3 separate regions of the Homo sapiens genome follow, and regions 2 and 3 are each linked to region 1. Evidence: promoter capture Hi-C in 16 types of primary human blood cells and fetal thymus (Javierre and others, 2016). All regions are on one chromosome and are shown on one strand. Each heading gives the region's core, a stretch centred on a gene start or on the middle of the fragment in contact. The rest is flanking DNA. Distances are from core to core; before and after follow the strand shown. Region 1 holds the start of DBX1 (developing brain homeobox 1). Region 2 overlaps PRMT3 (protein arginine methyltransferase 3). Region 3 overlaps SLC6A5 (solute carrier family 6 member 5).

Region 1 (2,832 bases), core at 186-2,685:
CTGAAGGTGACAGTTAGTTCATGGTTAATAGGATCAGGGCGGCCTGGCGGGGCTGCACACTTCTCTTTGGGGAGGTTCAGCCACACTAAAGAGATGAATGGGACATTTAACACATCTGTTATCTCGCCGAACAGAGAAATGGGGGGAATCGAGTCTTAGTACCACCTCAGCCCCAACCAGAGGAAAGCGAAGGGACTGTCTCCAGGAAGATTCTCCTTTGAAGCCCCACATTCAGGGGAGGCTTTCCCGGAGTGGACCAACATTCTTGGGAACCGCATCCCTTCCCTCTGGTTTTCACGCGTTTGTGCGTTGTAGTTAATTAAGAAGCTGCCAAACCTTGGGCCAAGTTAAGGGCCCCGCAAGTGGTAGGGTTCTCTCCAGACGACGTCTGGACCTTCGCTGCTATGGCTTAAAATGTCAGGGCTGTGAGTTTCAACTTAAACTGCCGAGAGCTCCCTGTGTTTGGAGAACGGCCAGCATAGCACTCACAGCCTTTGGATACCCTTGCCCGAGGCAGTTTCCGGTCAGCCTAAGCTCTTTGCAAGCGGAATCCTGCCGCTCGGCAGCCCAGCGCCGCTCTCCTCCGCTCCTCCCGCAAGGTGAGGTGCGGACAGCCCCTTGCAGAAACTCCTAGAGAAAATCGTTTTCCAAGTTGCTGGGAATTTGAAGGAGACTCGTTTTACTTTTCAGGTATCCACCAACGCTCAAACTCAACCAGTCTCCCGAAATGAAATAACTCCAGACCTCTCCCCACTCTTACGGACACACATCCAGTGGCCCCAAAGCATCCGTTTCCAAGTTTCCCTGAGTCGTCAGAATGGGACTTCTAACACTGATTTCACTCACCCCTACATTTGCTTTATGCTTCAGCTGGAGTAACGGATAGGGCTAGAGACCGGAAAGGGAGTATATTTTCATGTCCACTGACTTGAAACTTTTCATTGCCCTACCCCCACAAGAGGGAGGGCAACTTTGCTGATAGCCTGAAGATGTATTTCTATGAATATTTATTGATTTATTTTCCAGGCTTAGCAGGGGAGCTGCAAATAAATTTAGTGGGTTCTTTAAATAATTCCTTTTCTATGAGGCAAGATGTCATCTGAAACTTCTAAATAGGCATTTAATTAGCCCGGGTGTTGCTTCGGAACAAAAACCTTTGGCGAGAGCTTTGGGGGCGCACTGTATTGCAAAGAGGCGGTCGATATGCAAAATTGATGCGCGCGGGCCTTTGTTGCCGGCCCATTGTGCGGGCCATGCTTATGAAGACTAATCCAATCATAAATTGCACCCCTGCGCCAATCAGAGAGTCCAGAGCCTCCGGCGAATGAAGCTCGAGTGGAGAACTTTGTTGAACTTCATTGTCAGAGCTGTCACTTTTCAAAGTGCTTTAGCGGGCGGGCCACTATAAAACCATCACCTCGACGAGAGGACCACGGAGGACTCGCAGACGCCCAAGTGGGATTGTTACTTGGAGACGTTTGCTAAGCCCAAGAGAGAGGACACTGTGGGGGCGGGAGGGGCGGGAAGCGAGGCGTTTACCCTCCGGCCACTGAAAGAAGGGTTATTTCGCCCGCCCGCGCCTACCATGATGTTCCCCGGCCTCCTCGCGCCCCCCGCCGGGTACCCTAGCCTCCTGCGGCCCACGCCCACCTTGACGCTGCCCCAGTCCTTGCAGTCGGCATTTTCCGGCCACTCCAGCTTCCTGGTGGAGGATCTGATCCGCATCAGCCGACCCCCCGCCTACCTGCCCCGCAGCGTGCCCACCGCCAGCATGTCGCCGCCCAGGCAGGGGGCCCCCACGGCCCTCACCGACACGGGGGCCTCGGACCTGGGCTCCCCGGGTCCCGGCAGCCGACGGGGCGGCTCTCCGCCGACTGCCTTCTCCCCTGCCAGCGAGACGACGTTTCTGAAGTTTGGAGTGAACGCCATCCTCTCCTCGGGGCCCAGAACAGGTAAGCGAGGTCAGAACCCTAAGGGCCCATTCAGGTACTAGGCATGCGCGGAGTCATCCTGGCCTCAGTTTCCTCTAGCGAGCGGGCCCCCACACACACATCGGTGCACACACAATACGCACGAACTCTGAGACCCTACGTCAGGCAATGTGAGAATAGTCCAGTCAATTCCGGGGAAGAAAAGCCTCCAGGCTCGCCCCATCCTCGGAGTGAACTTGAGCACACGCAGTCGGAGACTGTGCGCAGTCATCTGGTGCAGTAACGCTGAGCGCACGCTCCTGGACGTCTGCGTTTCTGCCTTCGAGCTTCTAGGAGACAGTTTTTTTTTTTAAACTCAATATGATATATTTATTGGATTAGCAAATATTATAAATCTGCAATTTCTTTCCTCCCCACTCAGTCCTATCTCGTTAGTGCCTAGGATGGAGATTGGGGTAGAGTGGGACGGCGCAGAGAATTACGTTGGGGAGAAAGAAAAGAGTTTTACAGATAAGACAATGTTGGGAAGATTTATTTTACCCTGTCAACGTATAAGAAAGATGTCTTTGAAACCAGATGAAGGGCTAATTATATCGTGTGTTCAGTGTGCTATACAATAGGCAAGTACGTAATCAGATTCTTTCTGTCTCCCTCTCTCCTTCTGTCCCCCCTCCATCGCCCACCAGAAACATCCCCAGCCTTGCTCCAGAGCGTCCCTCCCAAGACCTTCGCCTTTCCCTACTTCGAAGGGTCTTTTCAGCCTTTCATCAGATCTTCTTATTTCCCAGGTAGGTCTCGTCCCCCTTCTTTGCGCGAGGCAGGGCGGCGCCCCAGCCCCGGCCCATCGCTCCCTGCTCCGAAGCCGTATTTCTCCGTCCACCCCTCGGGGTTATGCTCTGGT
Region 2 (2,921 bases), core at 62-2,561, 290 kb before region 1:
TGCAGAGTTAATATGATTAAATGTTTTCCAGAGACATGAAAAGAAAGCCTTCCAAATTTATTAGGATCCCTTTATATGTGGATTGGTTATGTGGCACTTTTAAAACTCATTAGAAACCAGTCACTACTTGAAATGTTCTCAGAAAATCACAGAGAAGTCGGGTTTACAGATTTAGTGAAGTCGTGAATAATTTCCAACTTAGAATGAAATATGCCATTGGGAAAAAAGGGAACTAAATGACATGAGGATTAAAAATAAAAAGGAGTTTGTTAGATTTGAGTTTGAATATCAAAAAGCTTCCAAAACCTAGTCTTTAGATATTTATTAAAAGGACCTTTTAATAAAAGCATTCTTGAGAATACCATTACCTTGGAGTCCCCCATGTCTTATATAATATTCTACTTTCAACAATATAGTAAACAAATGTCTTAAAGCTTCTTGTAATGCAAACATCTTTCAACCCTATCGGGAACTTCCTCAGCCATGCATAGTTTATTTGAAATCCAAAGGTTCATCTGGTTCTGCTAGACTAAAATTAGATTATTAAAACCAGAATTTTATACTCACCCGAGCCTCCTTTTGCCAAGTATTTGTTCTTTGCATAAAGGACAGAATCTAACATAGACTCAAACAGAAGAAAATAGCCCTGCATAAAAAAAGGGGAAAAAAAGAGTTTAGAAATGTGCAATACTCTCATAAGCAGGTCAATTTAAACATCGGTGCTACTCTTTTAATTACAGAATATTTTTTTTTCTGCCACAGATGTAATAATATTCTGCAAAATCTGAAACTTTTTTTTGCAGTAAGTTATTGGAAAATCAGGCCAGCTTATAAAGTGAACCCAGAAAGTTTATTGTGGTAAAATATACTGCATTTTCTTTATCTATGATTCTACTTTCCAGACTACTCTTTCTTCCTCATTAAAAAATGTTTGGATAGACATTATTAACAAGCCCTATAACTCCCTGGAATGATGCAATATCCATCTAGAGCAGTGGTTCTCCACTTGATTTTGCCTGCTGGGGAACACGTGGCAATGTCTGAGTAATTTTTGATTGTTGCAACTGGGGGTGGGGGATGAACGAGATGCTACTGGCATCTACTGTGTAGAGCCAAGGTATGTTGGTAAACATCCTTCAATGCACAGGACAGCTTCTTACAAGAAAGAATGGCCTGGCCCAAAATGTCAATAGCACTAAGGTTGAGAAACTCTAGTCTAGAAAACCACTTCCCAAATAATTTCCTGTCTAGTGACTTTCTTTTTGGTATTAAAAAAAAAAACAAAAAAGAAAGTGGAGGGATCCTTAGTCAAAAAGGTTTAAGAAACGCCAGCTGCCATATCCTCCTATTAGAGATTCATAATGTGCATGAGCACACTAAAAGTTCTGAGTAGTTCTCATGGTAAAGAGAACTGCTGAACATATTTTAACCAAGTATTACCCACTTTCTGACTACAGACCTTTTTTTTTTCTATTTAACATCTATCAACACCTTGCAGAACTAGTGTTCATGGAAATAAAATTCATGAAACATGATCCTGGTGTACTACCGATTTTAGAGTATGATAATGAATCCTCTACCAAGAAAGGGTAAATAATACAGTACAAATGAAAAAAGAATTTGCCACTACTGGTGTCACAAATACGCTACATTCCAATACTGTGCTTCACAGTTTATTATACAAATGACAAATAATCATGACTGAGAAATCACTATCAGTTTCAGTCAGTCTTTCTCCTTCTAGGGTCCAACCCCCCAACAGCCCTATGCAGCAGGGAAAGCCAAGTGCTCAGCACATAGTACATCTTATTGCTCAGGGTGAACCAACATTAATTTTACCTTTACTTTAGCATTCTATATCAAAACTGTTCTCATCCACTCATTTGTTTTGTTCACAAATAAATGATCAGTGGGGTAAGTATAATATTCTTTAACCACATTAAAAAAACATTTTAAAGGTTTCTCTAGAACAAGAAAAACCTGCAAACCCAGAATGGATAATCTTCACAAGAGATTAACAGCAATTTTAATTTATAGAAAATACAGCTCTCATGCTTGAATCACTTATAAAGGAACTGAACTGAATTGCCGGCAACTCTACGTCGGTATTGACCTATTCCCCCCAGCTCACTGATTCATTGATACAAAAATAACTGCCTATTAAACAGAGGCTTAGGAACAAAGCTTGTTTATCAATATGTTACATTAGGAAAATTAAGGATTTGACAGAAACATGTTTTTCTGGATAGAGTACTTCAGTAATATGTAAAATTCTTACAAGTTAGTTCCCCATTAATATTATCTATGTATTCAAAGAACAAGGGACTTATGGGATTCAACTAAGAAATCTTTACCAATCTGACATATTCACGCAGATTTCACACACAAATGCTTATAAATAGGCATTCAACTGTTGCTTATAGTGAATTATAATTTATGCCAAGGAATTATTAAATGGAAGGCATCTATCTTACGAAGAAAAGATTGGCTGGTAAAACATAATAGATTTGGTGAAAAAAATGGTCCCTATCTGCAAGACTGCTGTGTTTCAAAACTGAAAATAAAATAAATAAAATTAACACTTTAGTACAAATTAAGTATTCACTACATTCCAATCCTTTTTGGACAAAGGCCCAAAAAAGTTTGTATTGATTTGTCATTGTCAAATTGTTTTCTAGTATTCTATCTTTCAGCTCAGCTGTTACCTTATCACAAAGAATTTCTCTGATGTTCCTACATAAAATATCCTTTCTTTTTCTTTCATCAAGCTCCATTTCTTTATCCTGCTTTGTATTTCATCATAGCACTTATGAATGAAAATACTATTTATTTTTGTTTTTATTTTGTCTCCTTACTAAAATATCAGCTCCAAGATCAAGGACTTTGTCATATTGTTTGAAGCTATATTCCTGAAGGCTGAA
Region 3 (2,700 bases), core at 143-2,642, 450 kb before region 1:
ACTGGGGCACAGAGGGATGCAGTGGCTAGCCAAGGTCATACATCAAGACAGGATGTAAACAAGCTCTCTCTTTGGAATCAATGACTTAGGCAATCCAATGTGAATAGGGAGCAGGGATTATAAATTCAAACACCTACAGAAGCCAGGATGATGACACAAATGAGGAAGGCATAAAATTAGAAAATAATAGAGAGAGGTGGGGACTGTGGCCAACCAGAGAGCACTCCAGCCAATCAGTGCCAAGCTTTTCCAGATGTTGTGGCAAAAGATGCAGAAAATCTATAAACTTACATGAAATATCTCCATTTAAAAATATTGAATGTGTTAAAATTGTCTTTAAATACCAGGAGCAACAATAACAAAAAGTGGCTGGGCAGGGTGGCTCACACCTATAATCCCAACAGTTTGGGAAGCCAAGGCAGGAGGATGGCTTGAGCCCAAGACTTCAAGACCAGCCTAGGCAACATAACAAGACCCCTATCTGTACCAAACATTTTAAAAATTAGCCAGGTGCAGTACTGCACATCTATAGTCCTAACTACTCAGGAGGCTGAGGGAGGAGGATTGCTTAAGCCCAGGAGTTCAAGGTTGCAGTGAGCTGTGATTGCACCACTGCACTCCAGCCCGGGCAACAGAATGAGACCCTTTCTCTAAAATAAATAAATAATTTTAAGAAGCAGGCTTGATCTGGTGCATGGACTCCCATTTTATGTTCTCTGTGGAAGAGCATAGAGGGCAAGAATGTGAGTTCAGGCGTTCCACTACTCCCGAGAGCTTGAATGAGTTCCATTTGTCCAAGCCTCCATTTTCTGGTCATAGTTGTTCAGGGTTGCAGTAAGGACTAAATGAAGAGAGATCACAAATTAAAAATCTTCCCACAATGCCTGGCACACAGCTGGCACTCAATAAATTTTAGCCATAACTCAATCATCATTGTTATAGCTTTTTCTGGAGAGAGTATCTCTAGTCTTCAGCATCATCTCCCGTAAGGCCACTTGCCTGCCATAAATTGCCTACCACTTCCCATACACACCGCAGAGTTTCTTAGAATGTTGGGTAAAAATGGAAACAATAATAAGAATCCCTTCCCTTTCAGTAGTTCTTTAGACCAAGGTTTCTCAATAGCTGTACTAATGGCATTTGGGGTCAGATAAAGTAACCGCAATAGGTCCATTGCCCAACAGGCACAGTGAGTCAATACTTCACCAAGACCCTGCGTTGCAGCAGAGAAAGAGGTTTAATTAAGAGAAGAGGACCTTTTTTAAGTCACCCCAGAATTCCAAAGGACCAATACCCCTGCAAGGGACAGCCTGGGCCCAGGAACAGAACACGCTCATGTGCTGATAACACAGAGAATGACAGATGGAGGGGCTGCACAAAGAAAGAGTGGGGATTGACACCTTGTTTTTTTTTTTTTTTCACCAAAATAAATAAACAAATAAACCACTGGGTAAGAATGAGATAGGATCTGCTCAGCCTGGTCATTTACTCGCAGGAAGCAAATAGAGTTTCCTGCGTTGCAGCAGAGAAAGAGGTTTAATCATAAGAGCCACTGAACAAGGAGATAGGAGGAAACCTCAAATCCATCTCCCCAAAGAGTTTGGAGCTAGGGTTTTGGAGTAGGTTGAAGAGTGCAGGGTGAAGTCCTGGGACAGAGAGATGAAGAAAAGCATTCTCACACTGATTCAGTTCCTCTGTGGGAACCTTTTTTCATTTGTTTGTTTTTTGTTTTTTGAGACAGTCTCACTGTGTCACCCAGGCTAGGGTGCAGTGGCACAATCTCTGCTCACTGCAACCTCTACCTCCAGGGTTCAAGTGATTCTCATGTCTCAGCCTCCAAAGTAGCTGGGATTACAGGTGTGTGCCAACACTTCCAGCTAATTCTTGTATTTTTAGTAGAGACAGGGTTTTGCCGTGTTGCCCAGGATGGTCTCCAACTCCTGGCCTCAAGTGATCCATCCACCTTGGCTTCCCAAGGTGCTGGGATTACAGGCATGAGCCCCTGCTTAAAGCTGGTAGGAGTCTTTAAACTGGTTGGCATCAGCTGTTTTGCTGGAATTCGGGATCTGCTTAAGCAATTCTTAAACAAAAGCCTTATGATTCTAGCATCAGAAATCTCATCTATAGGAACAATGGGGATGCAAATGTACGTAGTGTTACTCAATTTTTGGTTTCAAGGAAGTGAGTCAAAAGCACAGCCTGATTAATGCTGATTATAACAATACTTCTGTCTAGAATTCTTGTTAACCCTGCAAGGACAGCTTTAGTAATTCTTGGCTGTGGGACCGTCCTGTGCATTGCAGGATATTTAGCAGAATCCCTGGCCTCCACCTACTAAATGCCAGGAGCCCACCCAGCTGCAACAACTAAAAACGTCTCTGAACGTTGCCAAATGTCCCCTGCAAAATCTCCCCTGGTTGAGAATCTCCACTTCAGGGCCTAAAAATATCTTCCTATTCAAAGTATCTTCTTTAATCAAATAACAGAGTTTCAGGAGGATTCCCACCTAATCATTATCAAATATTTACCAGGAAAGCTTTTGTTTCCCCCAGCAGTGACATAAATGAAGACAATTAAAGAACACTCCATATCTCTGTTCTGTAAATAAGCACATAAGTTATTTCTAGCCCTCCTGCCAAACATTACGTCCACCCAAGACGGGAGAGATCACTAACACGAGGGCAAACACCAAATCTCTCG

What was found. The method cuts DNA at HindIII sites, captures the fragments that hold promoters and counts their contacts. A CHiCAGO score of 5 or more calls a contact.
Region 2: a contact is called between a fragment that was not itself captured here and the fragment with the promoter of DBX1 in region 1, in 1 of 17 cell types (fetal thymus). The highest score is 5.6, in fetal thymus.
Region 3: a fragment that was not itself captured here is called in contact with the fragment with the promoter of DBX1 in region 1 in 2 of 17 cell types (fetal thymus and megakaryocytes); the score reaches 6.1 in fetal thymus.

What each region holds. Positions count from the first base shown.
Region 1 is chr11:20,159,078-20,161,909 of GRCh38, reverse strand. It overlaps DBX1 (developing brain homeobox 1), which reads left to right and starts at 1,435. Exons shown (of 4, transcript NM_001029865.4): 1 at 1,435-1,952; 2 at 2,618-2,719. The coding sequence starts at 1,586. RefSeq lists enhancers at 54-553, 554-1,055. The HindIII fragment of the contact is 3,864 bases long and covers 1-2,832 here.
Region 2 is chr11:20,449,855-20,452,775 of GRCh38, reverse strand. It overlaps PRMT3 (protein arginine methyltransferase 3), which reads right to left. Exons shown (of 16, transcript NM_005788.4): 11 at 568-646. It overlaps LOC124902808 (a long non-coding RNA gene), which reads right to left. Exons shown (of 2, transcript XR_007062965.1): 2 at 2,705-2,921. Among named protein-coding and RNA genes, the nearest start is that of PRMT3, 64 kb to the right of the region's middle. RefSeq lists an enhancer at 2,121-2,290. The HindIII fragment of the contact is 1,750 bases long and covers 437-2,186 here.
Region 3 is chr11:20,610,487-20,613,186 of GRCh38, reverse strand. All of the region lies in intron 5 of SLC6A5 (solute carrier family 6 member 5), which reads right to left. Among named protein-coding and RNA genes, the nearest start is that of SLC6A5, 12 kb to the right of the region's middle. The HindIII fragment of the contact is 2,292 bases long and covers 247-2,538 here.